Linked DNA regions of Homo sapiens: regions 2, 3, 4, 5 and 6 are each linked to region 1. The links are contacts of gene promoters, found by promoter capture Hi-C in blood cells and fetal thymus (Javierre and others, 2016). All regions are on one chromosome and are shown on one strand. The core of a region is centred on a gene start or on the middle of the fragment in contact, and the rest is flanking DNA. Distances in the headings are between cores, read along the strand shown. Region 1 holds the start of NDUFS4 (NADH:ubiquinone oxidoreductase subunit S4). Region 2 overlaps ARL15 (ARF like GTPase 15). Region 3 overlaps ARL15 (ARF like GTPase 15). Region 4 overlaps ARL15 (ARF like GTPase 15). Region 5 overlaps ARL15 (ARF like GTPase 15). Region 6 overlaps ARL15 (ARF like GTPase 15).

Region 1 (5,145 bases), core at 664-3,163:
GCAGATAAAAACATGAAAAGATATTCAACATTATTAGCCACCAGGGGAATAAATGTAAAACTGTGATGAGGTATTACTGCACATTTATTATTTACTTTAGCTCAGCTAAAACAAAAATAGCAATAATAGAAAATGCTGGTGAGGATATGGAGAAACTGGATCTCTCATACATTGCTGGAGGAAATGTAAAATGTTACAGTTACTCTGGAAAACAGTTTTTAATTTCTTTAAAAAATGACACATACATGTATCACATGACCTGGCAATTGCACTCCTGGGCATTTATCTCAGAGAAATGAAGATTTTTGTCCACATAAAAACCTGTATTCAATTGTTTGCAGCAGTTTTATTTGTAATGGCCCCAAATGGGAAACAATCAAAATGTTCTGCAATAGGTGAATGGTTAAACAAATTGTGGTACATCCATGTCATGGAATATTACTCAGCAATAAAAAAGGAATGAACTATTGATAAACACAACAACTTGGATGGGTCTCAAGTGCATTATGCCAAGTGAAAGAAGCCAATCTTAGAAGGTCATGTACTGCATGAGTCCATTCATATAACATCTCAAAATGTCAAAATTATAAAAACAGAAACAGAGATCACTAGGGTTAGGAGGGCAGGTGTTACCAAAAAGGTTAGCACTAGGGAGATCTTTGTGAGGGTGGAATAGTTCTGTATCTTGATCATGGTGGTGGTTACACAAAATATGTAGTAGAATGACATAGGACTACACAAATACTTTATATCAATGCCAGTTTCCTGGCTTTGATACTGTACTAGAGTTATACGAGATGTAATCACTGGGGGAAACAGGTACACAAGACATCTGTACTATCTTTGCAACTTCATGTGAATCTATAACTATTTCAAAATGAAAAGTTTGAAAGAAAATTTTCTCTGAGGCATCTCTCCCTTGCCTTCCTTCATCTTGTGCATTTCTTTCCCTGAGTATGACTTTTTCTCTTTCTTTCTCCCTTTCCCTTATGTACTGGGTTTTCCTTTAACGGTCCATAATGCCAAACTATGTCATTCCCCATCCTCCTATTGTTCCTATTTATTTAATGAAGGTTATGTTTTCATGTGCTTAATTTTAAAAGCAGGAAAGTACTAACTCTTTAAACAAATTTCTTAAAAAACAAAACCCAAAACTAACCTGCTTTTTATTTTATATAATTCAGTTAGTCATTATTCTTTAAGGTCGGAAGTCCACAATACAAACATGTTTCCAACACTTGTATTGGAAGATAATTTTTGTTTTATATGCATGGAGCATTAATATCATTCTTCATGTCTATGGATTATGAACACACACACATTCAGGATTTACTGGGGAAACAGTGACATCAAATATTATGTTCTATTGATTCTTCATATAAATCTACATGTCAAAAAATAATCCTTTGCCAGATCACGTATCCAGATTTTTCGTTTGGAAAATACGAACATTACTACTACAGAATATCAAACTGAATACAGCCCTGTCCTGAGGGCTTGCAAAGTGAATCTGGCAATACTTTGGAAAAGTACTACTGCAGGTTCTCAAGGACCCAAAGAGCTCTCCAGCTTTTCCAGTGGGTTCAGCCCCAAATATCCTAATTTCTTCAATAAATTACGAGTTGCAGGTGTTTAAATATGCAAGTATATTTTGGTCTTTTCGTTATCATTGTAAAACACCAGTCCTAACAAGCAGTAAAGATTACACTTTATGGTGGTAATATTTACAGTTAATGCACTTCTGCATTTCTTCCCGCACATTTTTCTTCTTACTTATTTAAACTAAGCGTTTCCCCTCTTTTTTTAAGCCCCAGTATTAAAAAGAAAATAAAATCCCAAAGAATTTCGCAACATTGCGATTGCACTGGCTTGAGAACGAAGGAAGTTAGTCCCTTGCGGTGATCCGTCCTTTCATCCTGGCGTTTGCCTGCAGCAAGATGGCGGCGGTGTCAATGTCAGTGGTACTGAGGCAGACGTTGTGGCGGAGAAGGGCAGTGGCTGTAGCTGCCCTTTCCGTTTCCAGGGTTCCGACCAGGTAATAGAATTTTCACACTTTTCTTCAAGCTTCTTGGGTCCCTCCATTTTTGCGGAGTCTCTGCTGGCTGAGTTCCGGAGGAGGCCTCGGGGAAGGCGTCCTCTGTTGACCCTTTTCTCGGGAGAAGTCGGGCGGACTAGGGACTGTCTGCTATCAATGGGCGTTGGCCAGGCGAGTGAGGGCGTGAGTGCGAGGCCGGGGAGGAGGACCTGTGGTTTTCTGGAAGCTTTCGTATTCGGCTTGTCGCTGAGGGAGAGGGTCCGTGGAGGTTTTGCCTCCGGAGCTGCAAGCTGAACCTTAGCCCTCAGAGAAGGGGAGGAGTCTCACTGATTTCTGTTTCCACTTTCTGCATCCCTTCCATTTGTCACCTGTTTGCCCACCACTCCAGTCCTTACAGAAGGGTTAAATCACTGTATCCCTTCCATGGTTTTAAGTGGTTTTAATTTGGTTTCTGCATAGGAAGATTGTTTATTCATCAGTCTGCTTGGGAGGAAAACTTGTTTGGAATTCAGTGTTAGTAAAAATATCACTGCTAGTAATATTGGAAGGTAATTTTTAAAAGGCTGGTGGTAATGCCTGGAGGTTTTCTAGGGATTTTGTTAAAGCCTCACAATAATTCAGGGATTGAATTGAGTTGTTGAGGGCTCTTTGCGTCCTTGAGAACCTAAAGTAGTACTTTTCCAAAGTATTGTCAGATTCAGTTGTCAGTTGATTGAGTTGTTACTGTTTTTCCTTGAAGCATTTTTGTGATGATTTTTTTTTTTTTGGCTGTATTAACCTTCCATTTTCTATTTTTCAGAATTTCCTGGAGTTTTTTAAATTATAGTACTAATGCTATACGTACATACACACACATATTAGAACAAAGATTGGAAAGACTGGATGGAGAGATTTGAAGGGGGTAGGAGGTGGATGCAAGTGGTTAAAAGTTGAAAGGAAGGTCTAGTAGAATGCTAATTGATTTAGTGTTAAATATAAATGGAATGCAGAGAATTAGGATGAGTTAATTCGGAAGAATTTTTAAGGATGAGTTTTATTAAGGTTTAAATATAGTGGGTGTTGGGTGGGAAAGAAGAGAGTGTCCCGTAGGGTCCGTGGCTTATGAAAAGGCTTGAAAGCATTAGTTAAACGATTACTAAATACATAGAATAGAGTCACTCAAAAGTAAGGGTGCTAAGATTGGGGAAAGGCAAATGATGTTTGTAATTAAGTGTTCCATATATGGAAAGTATTTTTCCTTTTTCTTTCTCTTTTTTTTTTTGAGATACATTCTCACTCTGACGCCCAGGCTGTAGTGCAATGGCGTGATCTTGGTTCACTGCAACCTCCGCCTCCCGGGTTCAAGCAGTTCTCCTGCCGCAGCCTCCTGACTAGCTGGGATTACAGGCGCGCACCACCACACCTGGCTAATTTTTGTATTTTTAGTAGAGGCGGGGTTTCACCATGTTGGTCAGGCTGGGTTAAGTATTTTTCTAAGGTAAAATACTTCACTGGTTAACTTAGAGTTAATATAGCGGTGACCAAGATTAGCCCTTCCTCCCGTACAGATTATAGGGATTAATTGTCATTCCCAGATAATAATGTACTCATGGTAGCCCCAGAACTGAAAACAAGTTTGAAGGGACCACTGGTTTATGGCTAATCAAAACATGGCTGTAATTTTAAGTCAAAGCCATTTTGTCAGCAATTATAGTAATTGAAGTTGAGATTAGATTTTTGAAACTCTGATGATAATTGTTACTACATATCCAAACTTAAGAGTTTTTGCCTGCAAATGTAAGAGATTTGAAAATAAATCATTTAATCTTGAAAAAAAATCTTAATGCCAGGGAAGACGTTTTTTAAATACAAATTAACACATTTATTTGTTTTCTGTGCCACATTTTTACCCTAAGAGCTTGTCATGTTCATCCTAATTTGAGGGAAATTTATAGACCCTCTCCCTTACATATTGTTTGTTCTTCATCCTTAAGCATTCTTTTTCCATTATGATTTGATAGTAATGAGGATCTGAAAAAGGTGAGTAGAAAGAACCAATTAATGGGAAAATCTACATCTAAAATTCATTTTATTGTAATGCTTAGAAAAACATTTGCAAATCATGTAACATTTCAGATCATTTGAATAGAATATGGGAAGTGGAATCAGTAAGGTAAGGAGTGGAGTAGGGAACTGAAGGAAAGGAAGGGCCGGGCGCGGTGGCTCACACCTGTAATCCCAGCACTTTGGGAGGCCGAGGCGGGCAGATCACAAGGTCAGGAGATCGAGACCATCCTGGCCAACACGGTGAAACCCCGTCTCTACTAAAAATACAAAAAATTAGCCAGGCGTGGCAGCGTGCGCCTGTAGTCCCAGCTACTCAGGAGGCTGAGGCAGGAGGATGGCGTGAACCCGGGAGGCAGAGCTTGCAGTGAGTCAAGATCGCGCCACTGCACTCCAGCCTGGGCAACAGAGCCAGACTGTGTCTCAAAAAAACAAAAAAAAAAAAAAAAAAGAAAAGGAAGGATGCTGTTAGCTGCTACATTAACATATTAATTCAATTATAGTATATCATCAGTGAAAAGCAAAACAAAGAATGCAACAACACATACACACAAGAGAGAAAAAATCTAGTAATGTGGGTGATTGAGCTGATCTAGTTACTTACTGAGCTTGTGCTGTAGTGTTGGTCTCAGTTTCCATGTGCTTCTCATTTCCCTGTACCGAATGTGAGGAGGCAAAAAAAGGGGTTAAATTGTCTACATTTTTTTTTTTTTTGGAGATGTAGTTTCGCTCTTGTCACCCATTCTAGAGTGCAGTGGCACAATCTCAGTTCACTGCAACCTCTGCCTCCCGGGTTCAAGCGATTCTCCCGCCCCAGCCTCCAGAGTAGCTGGGATTACAGGTGCCCACCACCTCGCCCAGCTAATTTTTTTATTTTTAGTAGAGATGGAGTTTCACCGTGTTAGCCAGGCTGGTCTCAAACTCCTACCCACAGGTGATCCACCCGCCCCGGCCTCCCAAAGTGCTGGGATGACAGGCGGGAGCCACCGCGCCCATCCCTAAGTTGTCTACATTTATCCTTACTTTCCCTGACTTTCCTAAGAGATTTTCCAGGGTAAATTTAACTA
Region 2 (5,145 bases), core at 1,016-3,515, 460 kb after region 1:
GTAGTTTTTATTTTTAAGAGGGTCTACATTATTATTTCGGAAGCTTTATCTTAACAAATGATCTGAGAATCTTCATATCTACTTAAAGTAGTGTTCGGTAAAACTACAGAGGGCTATACCTAGAAATCTATTATTTGTTGGAAGGATTTCTTAAAAGCCTTCAATTAATATCATATTGAACGACAGTTAAGTATGTTGGGGCCATGAAGTCACTGAATTATCTCAATCTCTGAATGTATTTACAAATTTTCAAATTTCAACTTTAGATCTTCTGCATATGCATAATTCCAGAAATGTAATAAACTACATCCTAAATTTGAAAAGGAAATGTGAATATTATGACATTCTAATGCTCATGCCAATGTAGCCTTATACAAACATACACTTGATTCTGTAAAAAATCTGGAACAAAAAGTAATATTTATAATTGGGTTGTTATAAATTGAAGAATCAAGTAGGAATGTAAGCACCATCTATTTCCATTTTTTAAAAAACCAGACCTATACTTTCACTGCTTTTCACAAAATATCTACAAAAGCATTAAACTCTTTCATCTACAGCACACTTTGCAATTATTCTCTTCTTCTCACATCTGAAAAGCAAATTAGCAGTTCTCAAATGTGACGCTACAACACCAGACAAAATTGTAAGCTCTGAGCTTTGTTAAAACTAGTATGAAAAAACTAAATATATCTGTAGATCTAAAAGAAATATAACCAAAAAAGTAAACATATGAAGTATTAAAGTTACTTATAATTGGAAATATCTGAAATATTAAAATGAGATTTTAAAAATCAGTGGTGACCCTCCCCCTCTCACACTGTCAATGGAGACTGTGTACGTTCCAGGAACCTGGACTGGCACTGGGGGAATGATGTGTCCTTTCCCCTCCTTACAGGAGCAGTGTCAGCGGAGGCCTACTAGTTAGGACTTTCACCACCACCTTGCAGTACCAAGGCCACCCCCCTGCAGTGTCAGTAGAGACTGTACTCAGAGCAGTAAGAATCCCCACCTCTCCCAGAGTGGGGGTATCATGGGAAGGCTGGTAAGGAGCCTGAACTCCTGCCCCTGCCAAGCAATAATGAGGTATGCCTACCCACCAGATGCCAACAAAGACTTAGTGGGTAACCCAGACATCCAACCCCATTGAACAAGTAAAGAGGTAGAGCAGTATCAGACGACATCTACTAGACAGAAGGTCTCAAAAAGATCCATCCAAAATTTCATGAAATAATAGCCAAAGTGTCTAAAATTTGATGAAAAATGACTTGTCATACCAAGAACCAGAAGCACCTCAACTTGAATAAGAAAAGACAGTCAGCAGGGCTTCGTGGCTCACTCCTGTAATCCCAGCACTTTGGGAGGCTCAGGTGGCCGGGAGGTCAGGAGTTCAAGACCAGCCTGGCCAACATGGTGAAACCTGGTCTCTAATAAAAATTAAAAGAAAAAAAAATTAGCTGGCTGTGGTGGCTGGCACCTGTAGTCCCAGCTACTCAAGAGGCTGAGGCAGGAGAATCGCTTGAATCCAGGAGGCAGAGGTTGCAGTGAGCCGAGATAGCACCATTGCACTCCAGCCTGGGTGACAGAGTGAAACTCCGTCTCAAAAAAAAGAAAAGACAGTCAAGAGACACTAACACCAAGACACAGATATCAGAATTTTCTGACAAGGATTTAAAATCAGCCATCATAAAAATGGTTTAGGGCCAGGCACAGTGGCTCACGCCTGTAATCCCAGCACTTTGGAAGGCCGAGGTGGGCAGATAACCTAAGGTCTGGAGTTCGAGACCAGCCTGACCAACATGGAGAAACCCTGTCTCTACTAAAAATACAAAATTAGCTGGGTGTGGTGGCACATGCCTGTAATCCCAGGTACTTGGGAGGCTGAGGCAGGAGAACCGCTTGAACCCGGGAGGCGGAGATTGCAGTGAGCTGAGATCATGCCATTGCACTCCAGCCTGGGCAACAAGAGTGAAACTCCATTTCAAAAAACATAAACAAAAACAAAAAAGCTTTAATGAGCAATAATAAAGAAGCATAAAACAAAAGAAAAAATATAAAACATCAGTAAGTAGAAGATGTAAAGGATCAAATATAAACTTTAGAACTAAACAATACAATAACTGAACAATACAAAAGCTCAGTGATGGACTCAATAATAGAAGAGCGAAAACAAAAGAATCAGCGTACCTGAATTTCTTTAACAGAACAACAGAAATTACTCAATCTGAACAACAAAGAGAAAAAGTCTAAAAACAATGAACAGAGCCTCAGGAACCTGTGGGACCATAATCGAAGATTTCCTTTGTGTCACTGAAGTTTCAGAGGGAAAAAAGAAAGAGGGTGTGGCTGAAAACTTCTTCTAAGAAACAATGGCTGAAAATATCCCAAATTTGGCAAAAAGACATAATGATTGAAGAAGTTTACAGATTGAAGTTTAGAGAACCTCAAACATTTGAAAAACCCATGGAAATCCATGCCAAGATACAACATAATGAAATTTCTGAAAAATAAAGACAAAGAAAAAGCTTCAAAGCAGCAGGGCAGAAAGGGACACCTCACCTAAAGAAGAATAAAAATTAAAATGACAGCAGATTCCTCCCCAGAAACCACGGAAGCCAGAAGGAAATGATGCAACATTTTCAAGTGCTGAAAGAAAAGATCTGTCAAGACAGAATCTGATTCTCAGTGAAAATATCCTTCAGAAATGAAGGGGCAATTGAGACATACTCAGACGAAGGGAAACTCAGAGAATTTGTCACTGGCAGACCTACCCTAAAGAAATGGCTACAGAAAGTTATCAAAATGGAAGAGAAATGATAAAAAGAAGAAATACTGGAACACTGGGAATAAGGAAAATTGAAAAGAGCAAAAATACGCGTAAGTATTATTGGGGCTCAGGAAACAATGTCCCAAAGTATGGTGCTTTGGCATGCTGAGTGCTTTGAATCAAGGTTTCTCTGACCTTCTCCTCACCCTCCTCCAGTCCCCTGCTGCCCCTGTCTCTCATCTCTTGCCCCTCTTTCCCTCCCAAAGTGCAGGAAGGTGCTTTCTCTGAAGTTCCCTTATCTGACTAAGGGAAGTTCCTCCAGAAGAAATGCAATTGCTTTGAGCCCCCCTCTCTATAATCTTATCAAACAGAGAAGATTAGCTCACAGGAAAGGAGACTAAAGGTCAAAACCACCTATTCTGAAGATTGCTAGCTGAGAGACTTTATCCGTATAACAAGACAGCCTCTGCTCATCACACATTTTTCTCCCCTCAAACCTCTATAACCTGTTACCACCTCCCACCAGAAATCCCAGCCCCTTATTTCTTTCTGTAGCTCAAAATGCTATTTAAGCTTCCACCATCAGGCCCTTTTTTGAGTCTCATATTGTGTGGGGCTCCCGTCTATATGCATGTAATAAACGTGTGTGCCTTTTCTCCTGTTAATCTGTATATTGTCAACTTTATTCCAGAGACTCAAATTATTGAACCTTCAAAGGATGGAGGGAAAGTTCCCTTCACCCCTATGCCCTTCTCCTCTTGAGAGATATCATGTTTGATGGTGGAAGAAAAAATTACAACACTGTCTGATGTGGTTCTCAATGTTCTCAAAGAGGAGATATAAAGAAGAATAAGTAGAAATCGTTGAACTGAAAAATGTAATAATGAAATTAAAAACTCAATGGATAGGCTCGACAGCAGGATGGAGAAGTCAGGTCAGTGAACCTGCAGACTGAAAAACAGGAATTACCCAATCTGAACAACCGAAAGAAACTAGACTGAAAAAATAAAAAATATTTAAGACAATTATATTATAAATGAGGAGGGTAAAGGGATGTAGAGAGAGATAATAATTTTTACATTGGACTTGAATTAGTAAAATGTTGACACAAATAGGCTGTTAAAGATTATGGATGTACAGTGTAATACCTAAAACGACACTAAAAATCTAAACAGACACATTTAAAAATATTACAGATATATGGAAATGCAATTATAAACAAAGTTCAAATAACCCTCAGGAAGGCAGGAAAAACAAAACAGTGAAAGGTAAAGAGACGGTTAAGTCGAAAAAGCAAAAAATGAAATGGCAGACTTAAGCTCTAGACTTTCGAAGATGGGAAATACAGGATTGACTCTAAAGGGGTACGACTTTATCTTGATCATGGTGGTGATTACCCAAATCTACACATGTGAAAAAAAAAAAAGACATGGAACTATATGTACACATTATACCGTTGGGGCTCAGAAACTGATACACCAAAATATGGCGCTTTGATGTGCTTAACTGAAGAAGAAGCCTTAGGCCTCTCTGACCTTCCTCCTCCCTTCCTTCTCTCAATCCTCTGCGCCTCCCAAAGCAAAAGATGAAGTTATTCTCTGAAGTTCCCTTATCTGCTGAGAGTCTGGACTTGCCAAAGAAGAAAACAATCACCTCTGGTCCCTTCCCTGAGTTTTCATTAACTGAACTCATATCACAGGAAGAAAGACTGAAGTCTGTCAACACACCTGAGCAGGTTTTTGTCACGAACCATCGTGTCTGCTCTGCTGGCCCAACAGACTTTGTCCTAGGCCGGTGTATGTTCTTCAAGCCCACTGAATTCCCCTAAAAATCATTTACTACTCTCCTAAAATCATCCCTACTTCCCCATCACCCTTTCCCCTGAGAAGAAGGGTATATAACCATCAGCACCCCACTATGTGGTGGATTAATCACTCTGGGATTCTTCCCTGTGTGTGTTAATAAATTTGTATGCCTTTTCTCCTATTAATCTGCCTTTTGTCAGTTGATTTTCAGTGAACCTTCAGAAGGCAAAGAGGGAGGCTTGCCCTTGGCCCCTACGATACAAGTTTCCTGGCTTGGTTGTTGTACTATATGGTTTTATAAAATGCAACCATGGAGAAAACTCGGTGACGAGTACACAGGATCTTTCTCAGCTATCTTTGTAACTTCCTGTGACTCTATAATTATTCCAAAATAAAAATCAATGGCAGTTATGTAACATGAAGCTACATGCAGGTAATGGTACTTTTGCAGATTTGTGAAGAAAACCAAATTCGTGAGTAACATGTACTGCGATGTTAGATTTATCCATACTTTTTAATACTTTGTATTGTATAAAAACTTAGTAAAAAGACACAATTTTAAAATTAATATCT
Region 3 (5,145 bases), core at 1,124-3,623, 440 kb after region 1:
TTAAAATTTTTTTTAAATTATTTTGAAAGTCCTATGCCATTAATATTAATATTAGAGCCATTTAAATGAAAACACACAAACCTCAAATCAACACTTATTTTTCTTTCTTTTTATATGGACAGGGGTCTCACTATGTTGCTGAGGCTGGTCTCAAACTCCTGTCTTCAAGCAATCCTCCCACCTCAGTCTCCCAAAGTACTGGAATTACAGGCATAAGCCACCGTACCTGGTCTAAACATCTACTTTTCTTAATGGGTGCCAAGACATTCTTTAAAAGTAACTGGGAGGCTGGGCGCGGTGGCTCATGCCTGTAATCCCAGCACTTTGGGAGGCCGAGGCAGGCAGATCACGAGGTCAGGAATTCAAGACCAGCCTGGCCAAGATGGTGAAACCCCATCTCTACTAAAAATACAAAAATTAGCTGGGCATGGTGGTGGGTGACTGTAATCCCAGCTACTCAGGAGGCTGAGGCAGAGAATTGCTTGAACCCGGGAAGTGGAGGTTGCTCCGAGCCGAGATTGTGCCACTGCACACCTGGGAGACAGAGCGAGACTCCGTCACAAAAAAAAAAAAAAAAAAAAAAAAGCAATTGGGGATTTTTTTAAATGATGTGAGTGTGCAGTTGCATTTAATTCAAATAATATTTTATAAACATTTGTCTACATTAGGGGTGTGCAATAAATGATTTTAAAAATGACTATACTGCTTATGTATAAAACAGAAATATGTTTTAAATATTTGATGCCTCACTACTCATAATTCTCAGTATTTTGGCAGACACTTATTGAGTGTCCAATGTCAGAAAACAGTTACACTACTAAGGTCCAAATAAGCAAAATAGCTATAGATTACTCATCTTCAAGAGTAGTTTATCATAGTTTATCAGTAAGAAAATTTGGCAAAGGAAGAGTACATTTTCATTAAAATGCTCAGTGTTTCAATGAGGATGCTCCTGGCATTTAAGATATGATAATTCTCCCTTTTCGGGGGTTGGCCTTGTCCTGGCATTCCTGGCCCCTGCCCACAAAATGCTAGCAGTGACCCCAGTTATAGTGATAATCAGAATATTCCCATACGTTCCCCAAAGTCCCCTAGGCAAAAAAGTACTTTCTCCAGTTGGAAACCACTGACCCAAAGAGTCTCTAGCTTAAAACAGAAACAAAAACAGAATAAGGGTGAAATGTGCTAAAGCTTCATTATGTGGTTTTAAAAAGCAGGGGTGGTTGAGTGTTCCTTAATAACTGTATATAACTTTACTTCCTTGTCTTTCAGTTTATTTGTAAAAGGTTTGTCTCCTGGGGGTTCATACATTATCAATAATTCTCATTGGCTTCTTCAGAGGAGGATGTTCAGGCAGATGTTCAGGAGAATGTTCAGCTAGATGGGTGAGCAAAAAACCCAGTTTTCTTAAACTTTTAGTTAAACTCAGCTCTGCCGCCTAGCTGGGGACAATGGCAAGGGAAATCAGATTGCAGACTAGTGTCTCCTGGGACTAATCTGACATTTATGAGGGGAGCCTCTGGTTGACGAAATGCGAGTACCAGAACAGAGCTGATGCATGTGTGATCATACTCAACATTAGAACACCCCTTCAGGCTGGGTGCAGTGGCTCACACCTGTAATCCCAACACTTTGGGAGACTGAGGCGGGTAGATCATCTGAGGTCTGGAGTTCAAGACCAGCTTTGCCAGCATGGCAAAACTCCGTCTCCACTAAAAATACAAAAATTAGCTGGGCACGGTGGTGCACATCTGTAATCCCAGCTACTTGGGAGGCTGAAGCACGAGAATTGCTTGAACCCGGGAGGCGGAGGTTGCAGTGCGCTGAGATCGCACCACTGCACTCCAGCCTGGGTGACAGAGTGAGACTGTCTCATAAAAAAAAAAAAAAAAAAAAAAAGAGAACACCCCTTCAGCTTGTGACAAGCAGCTAACATCTAGGTCTATATGACAAATGTTTTTCTTTTGCTACCTAAAAATAGGTTTCTGAGGCTGGTTAGGTGAAAGTCCCCTAGGTAGGAATGGTATTGTCTCTAGTTAGAGACTACTGATCCAAAGAGACCCTAGATAAAAAGAGAATAATGGTAGGCTAACACCTTACACCTGTACCTTACGCCTGAAGGCAGAAGGGAGCAGGAGCACTGGGATGGACACAGGCTCAACATATCTAAAATTATAATCTTCCTATTTTTACAGATGGGAAGAAAGAGTTCAGAGATGTGGGATGACTTGCAGACATTCTGTGCAGTTTAATAAACCTTCCTTCTCCTGTATCGTACAGCAAGATCTCTTTCCAACATTACTACCTCAATAGGGTGAAGAATACATTTCTCATCTACCATTTGACAAATTTATGCTGAAATGCAATTCGTTTGCTGAACCTTGGAAAACAACTCAACAAAGTTCTGTCCTTTACATTATAAATCCAGTTCACAAAAACCTTTCAAACTTTTTTCTCCAAATAATCTGTCTTCTTCTTTATGTCCTGAGCTCAGAAGAGTTCCCTAATCTGAGCTCCTCAACTCTGGGCTCGTCGTTCTTCATTTCTTGATATGTGCCCACTGCTAAGAGTTGTCTTTGTTTATCACTCTAGCCACAGCATTCAAAATCTCCAAGCAGTAGACAGTCTCTCTGCTGCCCTATCAATCTCTTTTCCTGACTATTTCTTAAAAACCAAATTAAGGGTACCTTTTATTTCCTGATGAATAGCAGGCCTTCCCACACCACTTCTTGTTTCACTCTCCCTAAATCCTCATCACCTGATAATTTTCAATAATGATCCAAATGGCAACAGACTACATCATCTCAGCACCATAGCATGAGAGAATGAAAGGGACCTTGGAGGTCATTTGATTAACTGGATAAAAAGTGTTCTCTAAGAAACTTTTCAGATTCTTCAGTGGGCATCCAGGAGCAGGATGAAGGAGGTGAATGGGGAAGGGGGCAGCAAGCAGAATTTATGGTCCTCACCTCCAATTTAGCCAGAACAATTCCACTTTAATCTGTTTCTCTAATTATGCTAAGTACAATTTTATTTTAAAAAGAAAATAAAAAGAGGGACGCTTTGGAAATCTCCACTTAAAAAAAAGAAATGTAAAACCACTAATCTATTTCCCACCATGCTGAGTCCTTTAAAAAGAGCCTGATGTAAACTTTGCAAAAATTTGTGATTAGCAAAGGGTCTTTAAAATGCCTAGTCTCTTAGTAATCATAATCCCTCACCTTAAACACTGGCCTGCACCACCAAGAAAAGAGAAAATGTGATTTACTGATGGATGTGCTGGGAGAGGAAGAAAGAGACTCATGTTTGACTGCTGATTTTCCCATTAGCTAGCTGCTAAGCCACTTAACCTCCTCATGCCTCAGTTTCCTTGCCTGCAGAATGAGAGCTGGGCTCTACTCAGGCATTTTCTAGCTCCAAAATTCTGGGTTCTATGAACCAGATTTTTGTGAGGGGGACTGAGCCCTATTTCTCTCGCTTTTCCCATCTCTTGAATAATGTATCGTTCTTTTCCAAAGGAGAAGTGTCCAGGGACATCAGGAAAAAAAAAAAAAAAAAAGCTTTTATCCAATCTAACACCAGGACTAATGGAATGTTTACAGACAGACTGGCTGGCCTCAGCCCTTTAGTTTCTCCCCTTTTATCTTTCTAATCCTCCTTTCAATGTGTCACCCCTCACATCTCTTTCCTTCCTTCTTAGCTCCGCTCAAATTTAGCATACCTTTAAGTGGCTACTGTATACAAGGCACTGCGGTTCAGCACTTGGGTTATATAAAGATGAATAAGGCACAGCCCTGCACAGAAAGGGACTTCTGTAAGGAGGACAACTCTGGCAGAAACATAAAGGGAAGGTTAGAGATGCAAAAGAATAAAAGTGGAATATTTACATAAGAGATGAGGGCATGAAAAGTCTTTGAGAACTAACTGGGAGGTGGGAGAGAAGCCGTTCAATATTAATTCAGTGAATCAATCAGCTTGTTACTTACTGAGCTGTGTTCCAGGCACTGTACTACATGCAGCAGTTACAAAATGAAAAGGCCTGGTCCCTGCTTATGGTCTAAAAAGGAGAGACAGACATGGGAATTGGGTTTGGTGCCAATGAGAACCAGGGCAACACCAACCAAAAGAGGGATGTCCCAAATAGCAGACATGAGTGGGAGGAGACAGAATAAGTAAACTCCCACTGGAATAAGGAATTTATTTAACATGACGATGCTGAAGGGATGTGGGGGCTAATGGGGCATTGGTGCATTCACATTAAGCACACTCAGAGTAACATTTGGATCTGGAGTCAGAAGACAGAGACATCAACACTGAGATGCTGTCAAGAGTGGGGCCAGGAAGTGGAAGAAATCTCCTAGGTAGAAAGAACAGAGAATAAAGAGAAGGCTGTAGGACCAACATTCGGTAAGTGTCTATACTCAAGGAATAGAGAGGAAAAGAAAACTGAGTGAAGAAGACAGTGAAAGGAAATGTAGGAAAACAAGTAGGCATGTGCAATGCTAAAATAAGCTCAGGAAGAAGGGAACTTCAAACAAAAAGAAATGTTCAAAAATAAGTGGAAGGCCGGGCGTGGTGGCTCATGCCTGTAATCCCAGCACTTTGGGAGGCCGAGGCAGGTGGATCACCTGAGGTCGGCAGTTCAAGACCAGCCTGGCCAACATGGTGAAATCCCGTTCCTGCTAAAAATACAAAAAATTAGCCAGGTATGGTGGTGCGGGCCTGTAATCCCAGCCACTTGGGAGGCTGAGGCACGGAGAATCACTTGAACCCGGGAGGTGGAGGGTGCAGTGAGCCAAGATCGTGCCACTGCACTCCAACTTGTGCAACAAGAGTGAAACTTCATTTCAAAAAAATAAAAATAAAAATAAATAAATAAATACATAAAGGCTGGGTGCGGTGGCTCACACCTGTAATCCCAGCACTTTGGGAGGCCAAGGTGGGCGGATCACCTGAAGTTGGGAGTTCGAGACCAGCCCGACCAACATGGAGAAAACCCCATCTCTACATGGGCGTGGTGGCACATGCCTGTAATCTCAGCTACTCAGGAGGCTGAGGCAGGAGAATCTCCTGAACCGGGAGGTGGAGGTTGCAGTGAGCCAAGATCACGCCATTGCACTCCAGCCTGGGCAATAAAAGTGAAAC
Region 4 (5,145 bases), core at 890-3,389, 380 kb after region 1:
TAAGATGGCATCAGACATACCAGTGGCACTAGAAGCTGTGGAAGCACAGGAATAATCTAGAAATCGGTTGAGAGCTTTGGCTAGAGATTTAAATGTAGGACTCATCAGTTTATAGGCATCATTGGTGTATTTAAAACCATGGACCAAGGACCAGGCGCGGTGGCTCATGCCTGTAATCCCAGCATTTTGGGAGGCCGAGGCAGGTGGATCATGAGGTCAAGAGATCGAGACCATCCCGGCCAACATGGTGAAACCCCGTCTCTACTAAAAATACAAAAATTAGCTGGGCATGGTGGCATGCGCCTGTAATCCCAGCTACTCAGGAGGCTGAGTCAGGAGAATCGCTTGAACCCAGGAGGTGGAGGTTGCAGTGAGCCGAGATCGCGCCACTGCACTCCAGCCTGGGTGACAGAGCGAGACTCCATCTCAAACAAAACAAAACAAAACAAAACAACCATGGGAAAGGTGAGATGACCTAGGATATGAGTGTAGGTGGAGAAGAGATTAAAAACAAAATGAGGCCCGCATTCCACTATTTAGAAGTCAGGACATGTGAGGGTGTGATAAGCAGCCACCAGTGATGAAAGTGCTTCAGGAAGGAGGGATGGATCCGCTGTGGATTGCGTAGTAGTTGAGTCATGAGAGAACTGATTGGCATGACTTCAAGAGGGAAAATGGGAGGGGAGGAAATGGAGGCAACAAAGAGACAATAAATGTTCTCTCTAGGAGCTTCACGATAAGTGTGTGCTTGCAGAGCCAAGAAAGAAACTTGCTGGAGGAGGGCTGGTCAGTGGGGAGTGGGCGGGGGTGTTGGGGAAGATAAGAAGGGATTTTTAAAAGATTTTAACGGGCTATGTATATAATTTTAACACTCTGTATCCTGATTGTAATAATTCACTAGAGAGAAGAACAAAGTGATGATGCCAGAAAGAAAATGTAACTTCAGTAGGTGAAAGGAAAAAGGATATGGTAAGAAAGTGTGTGTAAAAGGTTAGTAGATTTTTTGTTTTGATGATTTTTATTTTCTCAGGGAAACAGGGAGTGAGGTCATCCACTGAGAAGGTGGAAGGGATACTGAAGGTTTGAGAGAGGAGGAGAAACTATGAATGAGTCCTTCCCAGAGAAGTGACCAGCTAAGATTACTAGAAAATTTGGGGCCCCTTGAGCCTTATGGTCATCAATTTAATAAGCCAGTCAGGAGTAGTATTGCTGGTTTTTCCTTCTGTCATGTTCAGTTTTTCTGATGCAGGTATGGAGTAAGTGAGTTGAAAAGACAGGAATTGTCAAAGACAGTGCTTAAAGATGAGGTTTCACAGGTGGTACAGCTACTTATAATGGCCAAGTCTGGTTGAGAATGGCCTGAGTGGGTGGCTGAGATAGAGTGAAAGAAAGATTGTTGGAAGGAAAGTGCTCAAGGAACTAAGAGAACCAAAGCTGGATAAATTTTCTACCTGAGAGCTGGAGTTTCCAAGAATGACAGACAGCCATGGGAAGAAGAGGTGTCAAACCAGCGCTCAAAAGCTTCTATGAATGATGGTCAGAATCAACAGGAAGCTGTACAAAATGTGTCCAGAACAGTAGTAGGTAGAATAGTGCAATGGCTTAAAATTAAAAGGAAATGGAATTTTTAATTGCAAGATAAATGGTCTGGAAGTGGCAGTAAGGAACAAGAAAGACACTCATCTCAACTCTGGACCCCATGTTACATGGGCATGGGAGATAAAAATCACAGCAAGTGAAGGATAGAAAATGAATTAAGATCCTTCTAGGGATCTTACAGGGCCTTAGAACTACATGGTAAACACCACCATGTCTGGCACAGAGCCAAAAACACAACAGGGTTTGAACAAATACTTGGGTTTTAACTAAAAGGAGTTTAAAAGTATCATCAATTCTGTAGACAAACAGCCTAGATATGGGGCTTTAGAAAAAGTCCACAAGGGAGTGGTTAAACAGCTTGAGCAAGAGACTTGGAATATATGAGAAAAGGGATGAAATAAAGAAATGACCTGGCCGGGCACAGTTGTTCGCACCTGTAATCCCAGCACTTTGGGAGGCCGAGGCAGGAGGATCGTTTGAGCCCAGGAGTTTGAGACCATCCTGGGCAACACGGTGAAACTTCATCTCTACAAAAAATACAAAAAATTTGCTGAGTGTGGTGGCATGCGGGAGGCTGAGGTGGGAGGATCACCTGAGTCTGGGAGGTTGAGGCTGCAGAAAGCTGTGATCATGCCACTGCACTCCAGCCTGGGTGGCAGAGTGAGACCCTGCCTCAAAAAACAAACAAACAAACAAAAAACAAACAACAAACCTGATCACCTACTGAGTAGCTCCCGACTGCACTCTCAGCTATTTTCTATCCTACTACCTTATCCTTTTCCTTGATTTCTTTGCTAATTATTTGTCTGCTTTTCTAGAATTGCTAATTTTCTGATTCACTACAAATGTATCAGCTTAATTACTATTTCTTTTGCTCGTCACTATATACCTAAGGCCTAGCAAAGTGTCTGGCACATATAATGTCCTCAAAGAATACCAAATAAACAAAATAGAGAAAAGCATGGTTAGAAGTAGCCCAATTAAGTTACACTATGCAGAGACAGGCCAATATAGGTTCAATACTTCTAAGGATCCCATCTTTGGGATGGAATTGACATTTAGAAAGAAGGCAGTGAAAAACAAATACTGATTCCTGGGCAACAGATCAGGGAGGCTGCATTCTTGTAGGCAGAGGGCTAAACAGCACTTGACTAAGGAGTAAGCTTGGAGTGGCTGAGAGAGATGTGAGTCAGCTTCCTCGTCTCTACTCAACCATCTTCAAAGTCCTGCCTCATGTGACCTTATTCCTACGATGATCCATTCTGTCCACAGTGGCCTTTCATGTTCTGTACTTCCTGATCTAACAGACAATCGCTATTTCCACTGTACTCCTAGCTTCTACATCACTATTACGTTGCAACTGTGAACACGGACATGTTTGTCGTTTACTGGGTATGTTTACTGAGTAGTTTAGACGTACATTGACATCAGACAGTTTATCTTTTAGATTATAAACTTGTAGAAGCAGGGGTTTGTAGTCTCCATAATGTAATCTTTGGTTCGTTAACTCAGTTTGTTTAGGTCAAGGGTGAAGGTTTAACCTCCAAACGAGTTATTTAGTTTTGCTTTGCTCCACTTTCTCAAACTACCTCCAACTCAGGCATTCTCAGCACACTGAGAAGTGTTAAACCAAGACAGAATAAGAGAAAAAATTCACATTTGAATGAAAATTCCAAACTTTACAATTGCAAACACCATACATTAAAAAGAACAGCAGTGAAATTCCAAAGCACCTGAAAAATGAGTTGCAAAAACAAAAAGGTTTATATAATCTAAAATTCCCGACTGCAGAAATATGTAAATATATATTTAAACTTGAAATATATGGCCATTGCTATTAAATGTAAAGTCAAGTAAATTTATGTTAAAGTAAAATGTAGTGTTCTCATTCCACTAACCATAAACATAGAAGTTTAGAGCTGGGAAGGACCTTGCAGGCCAGGCCCCTTATTTTGTAGACGAAGTAACTAAAGCCTAGAAGGGTTGCTGAGGTACCCAGCATCAGACAGCAGCACAAGTCAGCAGCACTGAAGTGGAGACACCACAGGCTTTGGAGACAGATCCATCTGCATTTGACCCTGATATTCCACCCTTTAGCTGTGTGGCATTGGGAACCCTCACTCTTTCAAATTTCAGTTTCCTCATGTATGAATGAGGGATCATATCACTATGGTTTATTGAGCAGGCCTGTAAAGATTAAAAGTCTTAAACCTGAAGTGCCTAGCACAGAACTTTTGGGCTAAAATGACATAATAGGCTGCGCACCATCGCTCACACCTATAATTCTAGCACTTTGGGAGGCCAAGGCAGGTGGATCACCTGAAGTCAAGAGTTTGAGACCAGCCTGGCCAACATGGCGAAGCCCCATCTGTACTAAAAATACAAAACCCAGGCGTAGTGGCATGCAAGTGTAATCCCAGCTCCCCGGGAGGCTGAGGCAGGAGAACTGCTTGTACTTGGAAGGCGGAGGTTGCAGTGAGCTGAGATCACACCACTGCACTCCAGTCTGGGCGACAGAGCAAGACTCGGTCTCAAGAGGAAAAAAAAAAAAAAAAAAAAAAAAAGACATAATAAAGCCAGATTATAGAATCTTTCCCCTAATGGAATAAACTTAAAATCGCTGTTAAAAGAAAAAAAAGTCAAAAATGTTACCAGAGACCAACCAAGTTAAAGAGAACATCATACCATATTCTGTATAAGCGGTGCCCATGAATAGAAGATTCCTAGGTAAAAAGGGATTGCATTGGAGGTGGGAAAGTTAGGTGGCCAAAATCCTGAAAACTATCATTAACAGCCCCCAATTTGGGGAAAATGGATCTAAGCTAGCATTTTGGCAGCCCAGGGAGGAGATGGAAAAATCCATCCATAGTAAAAAGCTCTTCCTGCCATCACAGGAATCTCCTCAGACACAGAAAAGCAAATCAGAACTCACCATTTTGGCTTTTTATGCCTGGGAGGAAAGGAGAAGAAAAGGGAAATGAGTCATAATCAAGCAAAGCTAATTAATTACAGCCAAACTCTATTATAAAGCTGTATGTAGGAGTCTAACAAATTCAATCATGTATGTGGGATCTCATTGTTGTAGAGCTAATAAAACAAGGACAAGGGCTGGGATGAAGGGAAGGAGATAGCCAATTGCCAGTTGTGTTAAATCTTAGTTGGTGCTAACATGAGGTTCGCTAGTCTGTATCAGAGTTTACTGTATCTTAAACAGTAAACAAAGGTCTAGCCAAAGAGAAAAATAAATAAGGGTGTGTGTGTGTGTGTGTGTGTGTGTGTGTGTGTGTGTGTGTGTGTGTGTGTGTTGAGGGCTGGGAGAGAAGGAGAATTAAAGGCAGAAAATTCCCAGGTGAGGTTCCCTTCCCTGTCTGTGGATTAATAATGCCATGGTAAAAGCATACAGGTTTCTCCTTTCTCCATTAGCTGGAAAGAGATAAAAACACTTGCTGGGGGAAAGATAGGATGTGGCAAGGGAAGGAGACACCTGAGGCTGACATTCTTAGCCAAAACTAATCAAACAAATGGCTTGCAAGCACCTCCTTGAAT
Region 5 (5,145 bases), core at 1,574-4,073, 350 kb after region 1:
ATCCTTCCACAGGAGCCACGCTAATCTCTGTATCATTCCAATTTTAGTATATGTGTTGTCAAAGTGAGCACCACACACTCTTTTAAGATTAAAAATATATATATTAACTCACTAATCCTCACGTCAGTCCATTGAGGAAAGTACTATTATTATTCCATTTTTCGAAGCTAGGACACCGAAGCTTAGACAGGTTAAAGAATATGTCCAAGCTATGGGGGCAAGACACAATAGTGGTGGTCTGGCCCAAGAGCCTGTGTACAGTGGAAATATGCTGCTTGTTACTTAGTATGCTGCATGCTGAGCTAGTACTAACAACAAAAAAACGGTTTTCAATGAAAAATCAGTGATTAATAACACGAAATGAAATCCAACAGTATGTAACTTTAGGTACTTATAATAGGGTTGGGATGAGATTTGTTGCAATGCCTCCTGAAGTCCCTTAAAACTCAGTCCACATCAGCAGCTACTCCTTGAGAGTATTGCAAGTAGAACAAAGCATTTCAAACCACAGAATCCTTTCAATGTTTTTATATTTCTCCACCATAATCTTGCAGCACCCCCTCCTCCAAAGGGCAGCACTGAATGCACAGACACATGACACATTGATATGATCAAGGTTGATTGGTGGCTTCCCACATATCATGTGAGGTCCACAAGAGACTAAAGATTGCTAGAGTATTGTGGAACCCTCAGTGATCTGAATTCAACTTATCCATTCATTCATTCAACAGATACTCAACAGGAACCTACTACATGCCAGATACTCTTCTAGAGACTAAAGATAGAGCGGTGAACAAAGCTGAATAATCCCAAACTTCTAGCTACTTACATTCTAATGAAGAAAGACTAAATAAATGTGATAAACCACTAAAATAGTATGTAGCATGTTAGACAATGGCATAAAGTACTAGGAAGATGAAGCAGGAAGATGCATGGGAAGTCTACAGTTCAAAACAGGGTGGTCAGGCCAGGCATGCTGGCTCACGCCTGTAATCCCAGCACTTTCGGAGGCTGACGCAGGAAGGTCACTTGAGGCCGGACTTCAAGACCAGACTGGGCAACAGAGTGAGACCCCATCTCTACAAAAAATTTTTTTAAAAATTAGCCAGGCATGGTGGCATGCATCCGGAGTCTCAGCTACTTGGGAGGCTGAGGTGGGAGGATTGCTTGAGCCCAAGAGGGCAGGGTTGCAGTGAGCCAAGGCTGCACCACTGCATTTCCCCATGGGCAACAGAGTGATATTCTGTGTCAACAAAACAAAACAAAGCAGGGTTGTCATCTCTCAATACTCACAGATCCTATCCCCTTAACTGAGTTTAGTCACTCCTTGAACTCACCTTGCCCTTTCCAAATATGAACTCTTTGCCCAAGACATTTCTTTCTCCTAGAAGGCCCTCTGTCCTGTTTCTTGTGAGTGGTAGTTTAGCTAGTTAACTGGACTGAAGCCGAAACTACCGTTGTTCAAATCCCCTTTTTATTACTTACTAACTCTTTGGCTTTGGGTAAGTCCCTTGACTGCTCTAGGCCATAGTTTTCTAATTTGGAAAATGGGTATAATAATAATGACAAGAACAATAATACCTATATCACAAGGTTCATTGTGAGGCTCAATTGAATTAGAATATTAAAGTGTTCAGAATAGTACCTGGCACTATTCTACTACTACTATGACCTCAACTAAATTTCTATCTGTGCTTAAGACCCAATTCAAATGCTACTTCTCAATCTCTAATCACAATAGCTGAAGGTGAGGTTTTCCTTCTCTGAGATCCTGTAGTCCCTTGGTTTTATCACTCTAATGGTATTTAACCTGTATCATTGCAAGTATTCACGCTATCTTGAAGTACAATTATTATATATATGTGAAGTACAATTATTATATGTGTGTGTATATTTATTTACTTATAAACAGCTTCTTCCCTCCTGAAATCACAGCACCTGAGGGTTTAGAATGAACATAAACTTTTCTTCTTCCTCCTTATCTCCTTTTCCCTTCTGTGAGTGTTTTAATCAGTTCATTATTTATATATACCAGAGAGTGGACAGGACAAGGAAAGGGAAGTGAAATTAGCAAGTGCACAGGCCCACACACACACTCTCACACACACACACACTTTATAGTTCTGTATTAGTTTATTACATTTAAATCTCCCAATGTTTTTGATCTCCTTCTCTGAGGAAAGCTTGGTGGTATAGCAGTCTATCCTCCAAAGATTTACAATCTAAATCGTGTAGAAAGCCTTAAGGAAAAAAAAAATCCCTCTCACTTCAACAACTTAAGCCCCAACCCTACTTGAAACTATGCCTTAAAGTGCTTGCTGTCTCCCCAAATATACCATGTATTAATTTTCACACTTCAAGACTGCTACTTATCCACCTGATGCATTCTGGAACCTCCTTCCCTTCCCCTGTCACTTCCCTTCTTTGTTTTCCTTGCTCTCCCTTCCCTGAAGAATTGACTGCTCCCTCAACCCAAGTAATACATAAATATTCGTCCATTCATTTCCCCTCTCCCCTGCTAGAGTGCAAATTCTTTGGGATGAAGACAGACCTCAAGGCTCAGAGAGCTTTGCCCAAAGTAGACCCTCTCACTCATCTTGGCGAATTCCGCATCTGGAGCAAGGTCTGAAGTGAGGCAGATGCTCAGAGTGTTCACTGAATGGAACTGAATGAGCTGCTAATGAGAATAGACAAAGGAATCTTTTCTTCTTTTCTTTCTCTTTCTTTTTATCTTCTTTTTCTTTTTCTTTCCTTTCTTTTCTTTTCTTTCTTTCCTTTGATGGAGTCTCGCTTCTTCGCCCAGGCTGGAGTGCAATGGCGTGATCTCAGCTCACTGCAACCTCCACCTCTCTGGTTCAAGCAATTCTCCTGCCTCAGCCTCCCAAGTAGCTGGAATTACAGGCATGTGCCAGCACGCCCAGCTAATTTTTGTATTTTTAGTAGAGACGGGGCTTCACCATGTTGGCCAGGCTAGTCTCAAACTCCTGACCTCAAGTGATCAACCCGCCTTGGCCTCCCAAAGTGCTGGGATTACAGGCATGAGCCACTGCATCTGGTCAGTCAGCCAAAGAAATTTCAGTCCCTCCTTCCCTCCCTTGTCCTTGCCTTCTGAGCAGAGATGCTGGGCACAGAGCTGACCAAACCAAACTACTAGGGGGAGGAGATACACAAATACTTCCTAAAACAGTCTGGGCAGGATGATCTATAGTTTTTATTAATTCAGTTTGTTGGGGGCTTTATCACACACAAGGCACTGTGCTGTGAGAGAGAAAGATAACCAAGACCTGATACTGCCCTCAAAGAACCCGTAGGCTACTGGGTGAAAAAGATAATAATTATAACAAGGTATGTATAAAAATGGCTGTGGGAACACAGAAGAGGGTGTGAGATTTACCTGTCTTGATAGTTGCTAACTCATTTGAAAATTCATAATATTTATAAATGATAATAAATCCATAGCAAAAGAAGCTTTAAAACTATAGTTCTCAAGTCTAGCATTGAACAGTTTGGACAATGTCTAGGTTATTTTATTTTGTGGAGAATAGGCTGTTTCTGAAAGCTCCCACTTTTATGGCCCAATCAGTAAGAGATTTCTATTCCAGCTGCTACACTATTCATTTATTTTAGTTGTAAAAACTTGAAAAAGCGAAAGGAAGAAATGTAAAATAAGCATCCCTGTCAAATTTACCCTTTTTCTTTAGAATGATGTTGATCCAAGACAAACAGTCTCAACCAGGGCAACATATATTTTAAATATCATTGCAGCAAGTAAGAAAGAGAAACGACTTGATTTAAGGTTGGTTTTTGATTTGTCAGGTGACTTTAAGTGATTCGCCTCTTGGTTCCCAATTTGGCTTCTATTCCAAGATAGAAATTCTAAAACTTGCTCTTTCACTCAGGTTGAAGTGCAGTGGCATGGTCATGGCTCACTGCAGCCTTGACCTTCTGGGCTCAGGAGATCCTCTCATCTCAGCCTCCCAAGTAACTGGGACTGCAGGCACACACTATTGCACCTGGCTTTTTAATTTATTTTTATATTTTGTAGAGAGACTGTCTTGAACTCCTGGGCTCAAGCGATCCTTCTCTCTCAGCCTTCCAAAGTGCTGAGATTACAGGCATGAGGCACTGCACCTGACCTGAAATTCTAAACGTACTCACAAAATACCCAGAACAGATTTAATTCAGAGAATACCTTAATCTCAATGTGGCTGTGTCCAGGTGAAGAGTCAAAATGTAATATTAAAAAAAAAAAAAGAGAAATAGAAAATTAGGTTCCACGATAGACACCAGGGCTTACTTGAGGATGGAGGGTGGGAGGAGGGAGAGATTTGAAGTACCAATTGGGTATGATATTTACTACCTGGGTGACAAAATGATTTGTACACCAAACCCCAGTGACACAATTTACCTGCTGCAGGGAAAACAACCTGCACATGTAACCCCCTAAACCTAAAATAAAAGTTGGGGGGAAAGAAAGAAAGAAAATTAGGTTTCAGAACACAAAGTATTATTATTATTATTTGGAAAGTGCCTAGTAAGACAGGGGCAGGTGACATGTTCTTTTAAGGCATCAGTACTAAGGCTGCCCAGCAAATACACAGCTAATCTAGAATATTCTGATAGAAAGATAAGGGTACAGGGAATCTTGTATGAAACAAGAAAAAGGCCAGATGATTGATACAGCCTCCAACATAATTTCCCCTAAAGGCTATTAACAACACAAGAAGGCCCAAGGCATTACTCTGAGCAAATTAAGACCTGACAGGTCATGTAGGAAACTCTTTCAAACATCCCAACATTTGATGTTTTATCATTTCATTTTGCTCTGCATATCAAAGAGATGGTTTTACCTCTAGCCCAAACCTCCGATATTCAGTAGTCACTCTATTCATATATATATGAAGGAAATCACTACAAAAGAAATACACAAAGCTTCAGCTTACTCTGGACTCAATATTCTAGGGGAAGACAACAGTTTTCATTTTCTTTTCTTGCTGGAGAACAAAAGCATCAGGTAGGAAAATCTGTCCCCTTGGAAAAGGACCAGCCATTTGTTCTCTGGAAGGCCCCTGAAAGTAAGCAGATAAGGGAAAGTGGATATCTGGACTTGCCTGAGAAAAGCCTTTTAGGTCCAATTGTAGCAAC
Region 6 (5,145 bases), core at 1,566-4,065, 320 kb after region 1:
TTGGGAGGCCGAGGCAGGCGGATCACAAGGTCAGGAGTTCGAGACCAGCCTGGCCAATATGGTGAAGCCCTGTCTCTACTAAAAATACAAAAATTAGCCAGACGGGGAGGCAGACGCCTGGAGTCCCAGCTACTCGGGAGGCTGAGGCAAGAGAATTGCTTGAACCCGGGAGCTTGCGGTGAGCCGAGATCGGGCCACTGCCCTCCAGCTTGGGAGACAGAGCCAGACTCTGTCTCAAAAAAAAAAAAAAAAAAAAAAAAATTGGGTGATTTGAAATTAACAAATGGAATGGAAATAGAGAGGTTTCTATTTCAGTTAATTTTTGTGATCTGACCTGAACATCTGGGCCAGTAAACAGCATAAGGGATGTGTCATGGCTCTCTAAGGGTCACATCTAGCATGGGGCTTAACACTGGTGAGCAGGAACAATATGGCCTTTAGGTGTTCAAGGAAATGCGAACAGTGTTGGTATAGATTTTGTAAAAATGTTCTAAATCCAAAATGTGTTAACTCCTGCTAAAGGAACGACTTTGCCCAAGTACCATTTTGGAATAAATCATGGGCGTAAAGGGGTCTTTCCAAGTTCCCAGTCCTCAATGACAGAAAATCAAAGCAGCCTCTTGAAACCCAGTTAAAACTCACTGCTACCTTCCTAGGTCAAACAGTAACAACAAAAAAACCCAGCAGGTTATATGCTTACAGGTTACTGCCTCTGTCTGGGCATGTGAATCGTGGCAGACATGCAGCCGCTTTAACTGTTAGGTGGAATAAAACACAAGAGACTGCTGCTGAATAAGAATTTTCCTCTTGGAGATTAAACATTCAACATTTCAAATATAAGTCATTTGTTTGATCAACAGGCAGGATGAGACAAGGCTGTTCTAGAGGAGGCAAAGCCCTTTGAATACAGAGAGGATGAAAAGAACAGTAGGTAATTGACAAGAGTTTGATTTTGCACTTTGGAAGCACCTTTGTGTGCTAGACACATGCTTCATTGTTGTAGCAGCAAAATAGCAGAATAAAAGGTGCTAGCTTTACAAGGTTCTATTTACAAAGATGCTTAAGAAAAGGCAAAAACTTCACTATGGTTAGATTTTTAGTTTTATTAATGGTCGCAGAAGCTAAACAGCACCCAAAAACAATTCTAAATTAGGAGGGCTAAAAAACAGAAATTAGGACCAAGAACAAATTTTTTAAAATCTAGAGACTGAAATTGCAATTTTAATATAATAAAATCCCTCACCCCCTCTAATTCTCTACGGTCATAAAAATAATCCAATTTAACAAGTGTTACAGGAATTAAAGTACTACAAAGACAGAGACTAAGTATGTCATATTTACAGCTATATCAATCCCTGGTACATAGTAGGTGTTCAACAAAAAGTGTTGCATTAATGAATAAAGTCCTAAAAGTATTAAAACCGAAAGTTCCAATTGTGAAATAAAACTGTACAATGCTAAGTTGAATCTCGACTAGCTGTCATCTCAAAAACCCTGTCAAAGCTGCTTAATAAAAGTGTTGGGTTGATACACTGCATGTCTAGAAAGTTGTAAAACAACTGGAGAAGGTCCAGAGACAAACCTGACTTGCTCCAGATTACAGAGAATGACAGCTAGACTTACTGTTTGCATTCTTGTCTCTGCCTTTTGGTGAGCCGTTTCCATTCTAACAAAATCTTCTCATTTTTAATATTTATATGTCTAATGATTTAATATCATACCACATCACTCTGGCCTTCAAGGTGCCCTGGACACACATTTTTCTGATTTACCTTTACACAGATTATACGCAAACTGGCCAGAAATCATTCATTTCAACATGAACCTCTCAGGTAAGAATTGTGGTCTTACTTCTCTCTCCAGAAACAGCTTTCTTCACAGACTCTGTTTAAAACCAGCTCCCGGCCGGGCGCGGTGGCTCACGCCTGTAATCCCAGCACTTTGGGAGGCCGAGGCGGGCGGATCACGAGGTCAGGAGATCGAGACCATCCCGGCTAAAACGGTGAAACCCCGTCTCTACTAAAAATACAAAAAATTAGCCGGGCGTAGTGGCGGGCGCCTGTAGTCCCAGCTACTTGGGAGGCTGAGGCAGGAGAATGGCGTGAACCCGGGAGGCGGAGCTTGCAGTGAGCCGAGATCCCGCCACTGCACTCCAGCCTGGGCGACAGAGCGAGACTCCGTCTCAAAAAAAAAAAAAAACCAGCTCCCTCCACCACCATCTTCTGTAAGCTTGTCCAGACATGGGGTACATCATTAGGCCAGGTCTTCCAGTCATTCCCTTGCTTGCAAAGCAATCATTTATAGGCGTTTGGTGCTTTGTCTGACATCTGTTTGATGCTGGAACTCTAGCCTTTGTCTCAATGAATCACTTGTCGGTGAAAGTCCATTGTAGGCTGGATTTCACACTTTCAGGAGGGGTTTGCCTGTGATGGAAGTGATCTTAGGCTTTTTGAAATAACCAGCTCCCTCCGCCTCCCTATATTCCATGAAGAAACAGGAAAATGAGAGAGTCTGGGGAACCTGGTGCTTATTCAAGCCTCATTTTGATTTGTTCCCTTGGGCCTGAGCCAGGTTAGCATCTCTGGGGACTACATTGCCAACTCACCTCCATGGTTGAAATGTTGCTGCTAGAAGAAAACTAGGCTGAAACATTTATGTAGGATTCTTTGAGATCATCAGATAAAAGGAAGAGATTTTTGAAAAAGAAGGAAGGAAAAAGGGAATTCACCATTATCTAGTAGTTAGCAGAAGATCGTTTTTTAAAAGTGTGGTGGAATGGCTGTACCCACGTTGGTCTATGTCTAGCTGGAGCAGTGGGGATAAGGAGTTGGACTGGATTATAAACCTGGCTGAGCCTAGCAAGGCATTACATCTAGAAACCACTTTCTTTATTCTCCCAACAGGGTACAAGTGACTTACAAGGCATATATGGTAAGTGAAGTTTCTTTGAAAGCCACCAGGCCCACACTATTCCCTTGTAGAAAGTGATTATTCATCTAGAATGCCCTGTGGAAATTCCTGTGTGCAGTCAGGACTTGAGAAGTACAGCAAGAAAGGGAAGGGGCAGGCTAAGCCTAAGAACCCTGTAGTTGGCCTTTCTAAACCAGGAGCCAGTGAATACAATATGCTTTGCAGAGCAGAGATGGCATGTGAGATGAGATTATAGAGAAAAATCTGATAGAGAAATCATGGGCTTTGAATTTCTCTTTGTTTCATAAGGAAAGGAAGATGCTAGACAGGGCGTATTGGAGAGATTCTTCTTTGTGACTTTTAACTTCTTTGCTTGGTTTCACAGTAAGTCACATTATGGAGAAGTTGTTACAAACAGATGAAACCCCAGGAAGGGAAGTCAGAATTTCCAGATCTGATGAGACAGTGGGTGGAAGAAAAGTTTGTCATTTAAAGCTTTAATTCAAAGAGAATAGGAAAGGGGAGGAGAAACTGACATCCCATCTGAGGCTTCTAAGGGATCCTTTTCATGTTCCTAAATTAGTACAAGGGGGTGTGGGGTAGGGTGCCAAACCTTGGGCTCATCAGTCACTTCATGCATCTGAGTTGAAAAACATTTAACCCTGAGATGCACATAATTTAAACATGCTGATTCACTGGTGACCAAATGCTGTGAGCCCTTGGGAGCCAGGAATTCCCAACATGATGTGGTAATGCATTTTACAGCATGAACTTCAGATCTCCAGGACCCAGGCTGGGGAACAAGACAGGGACTCTACATTCTAAAGTTTCTGCATAACAAACACAGACCCTCCCTTCCAAATGCATTGAAAATGAGGGATCCCAAAGGGCAACTCCCACTTCCAGCCCCACCACCCTACATACCTTTTCATTTCTGTTTGCGCCATTAGGTCAGGAGGTTAATGAAAATGCACTCTAAAGTTATAAAGAGGATGAAGCCAGGCACGAATATTAGATTTCCATTCAAGTCTGAATATGCAATATGGACATGAAGAAAACCCCATTTGCTTCAAAATCTTACAGTTCTGTTCACATTTACTTGGATAGGACTGAGATGCTTAGGAAGTTGATAACTGCTAATTGCCTACACTAGAAATAAACCTAGGAATGAAGGTTAGATTCCCAGCTTAGAAGTGAAACGTTGCAAGCTCTCTGTGTAGTCAAATACTAAGTGATGATAACGTTGCATTTGGGACCAAGCAAAAGCTGGGATTTAAATTTTTCATCTTCAATTACGTATTTTTTTTCTTTTTCTCTCTTCTTCTATCTATCTACCACTTGATTTTTCTTTCTTACTCTTTTTTTAGACCTGCATCCTTAAGGATGGATCTGTAAATGCACAGTATTTCCTCGAGTCACTTAAAAATATTACTTAACAGCATCAATCACCATTGAATGAAATAACTCATTGCACCAAACTTTGCCACTCAAGTTAATTTCACAGCACATATTATAAAATAATCCTTTGATTGAAGGATGATGCTTTATAATAATATCTTGAGTCTGTTCACACACTCCGAAGGAACAGCTTCAATAAGAGTAAATTGCTGCTGAAGACAAACCAACTGGAAAAGATACTTGCTTTTTTTTTTTTTTTTTTTCTTTTAAGGTTTTCACAATGGCTTCAAAGGAAATGCGAATTAATCATTTGTTTTGACCCAAGAGCAGCAGAACTTATTTTGGAGACAAACAGGCGACACAAACGTAAACAGAAATCTGGGACTCCCAAATGCTAAAGTTGAAAGGAGTTAGTCTGAAAACACCAGTTCTACTCAGCGTTTATTTTTCATTTGAAGATAGTGGAAATCGTAGAAATCATGGACAATACAAGTTGGTCTTGCCTGGTAAATGTCCACATGAATCTGTTAGCCTCTAAGTACAGGTACAGTATTTTTTTAATAGAAAGACAGGGCAATATGGCAGTTAATTAGCAACCAATACTGTCAACTACAGTGGATACAAAGTTTTATCATATAAATTAATTGCCATTACAAAAAGGCAACTGCTTTAGCTAAGAAGGTACAAAAACTGGAAACGTCCATAAATATTACAAGAAGCTAGGTGAAGAAATACATAACAGACTGTTTTTCCTATATAATATTTGAATATGCAAACCAAGACACCTGTGGCACTTTACATGAAAGTAGGAAAAGGGACTTACACTCCCACCCCCAG

The links. The method cuts DNA at HindIII sites, captures the fragments that hold promoters and counts their contacts. A CHiCAGO score of 5 or more calls a contact.
Region 2: a contact is called between a fragment that was not itself captured here and the fragment with the promoter of NDUFS4 in region 1, in 1 of 17 cell types (M1 macrophages). The highest score is 5.4, in M1 macrophages.
Region 3: a fragment that was not itself captured here is called in contact with the fragment with the promoter of NDUFS4 in region 1 in 2 of 17 cell types (M1 macrophages and M2 macrophages); the score reaches 5.7 in M1 macrophages.
Region 4: a fragment that was not itself captured here is called in contact with the fragment with the promoter of NDUFS4 in region 1 in 1 of 17 cell types (M1 macrophages); the score reaches 5.9 in M1 macrophages.
Region 5: a fragment that was not itself captured here is called in contact with the fragment with the promoter of NDUFS4 in region 1 in 2 of 17 cell types (erythroblasts and endothelial precursors); the score reaches 6.0 in erythroblasts.
Region 6: a contact is called between a fragment that was not itself captured here and the fragment with the promoter of NDUFS4 in region 1, in 3 of 17 cell types (M2 macrophages, M1 macrophages and M0 macrophages). The highest score is 7.7, in M2 macrophages.

The regions. Positions count from the first base shown.
Region 1 is chr5:53,558,726-53,563,870 of GRCh38, forward strand. NDUFS4 (NADH:ubiquinone oxidoreductase subunit S4) reads left to right here and starts at 1,914. Exons shown (of 5, transcript NM_002495.4): 1 at 1,914-2,035. The coding sequence starts at 1,938. RefSeq lists an enhancer at 1,816-2,315. The HindIII fragment of the contact is 3,063 bases long and covers 1-2,062 here.
Region 2 is chr5:54,019,353-54,024,497 of GRCh38, forward strand. The region is part of intron 4 of ARL15 (ARF like GTPase 15); the gene reads right to left. Among named protein-coding and RNA genes, the nearest start is that of MIR581, 70 kb to the left of the region's middle. RefSeq lists an enhancer at 504-1,410. The HindIII fragment of the contact is 516 bases long and covers 2,008-2,523 here.
Region 3 is chr5:53,994,743-53,999,887 of GRCh38, forward strand. All of the region lies in intron 4 of ARL15 (ARF like GTPase 15), which reads right to left. Among named protein-coding and RNA genes, the nearest start is that of MIR581, 46 kb to the left of the region's middle. The HindIII fragment of the contact is 2,369 bases long and covers 1,190-3,558 here.
Region 4 is chr5:53,942,318-53,947,462 of GRCh38, forward strand. The region is part of intron 4 of ARL15 (ARF like GTPase 15); the gene reads right to left. Among named protein-coding and RNA genes, the nearest start is that of MIR581, 6.7 kb to the right of the region's middle. The HindIII fragment of the contact is 1,241 bases long and covers 1,520-2,760 here.
Region 5 is chr5:53,912,053-53,917,197 of GRCh38, forward strand. All of the region lies in intron 4 of ARL15 (ARF like GTPase 15), which reads right to left. It also overlaps the pseudogene RNU6-272P. Among named protein-coding and RNA genes, the nearest start is that of MIR581, 37 kb to the right of the region's middle. The HindIII fragment of the contact is 1,285 bases long and covers 2,182-3,466 here.
Region 6 is chr5:53,879,209-53,884,353 of GRCh38, forward strand. ARL15 (ARF like GTPase 15) reads right to left here. Exons shown (of 5, transcript NM_019087.3): 5 at 4,734-5,145. Among named protein-coding and RNA genes, the nearest start is that of LINC02105, 62 kb to the left of the region's middle. RefSeq lists an enhancer at 2,994-4,193. The HindIII fragment of the contact is 1,176 bases long and covers 2,228-3,403 here.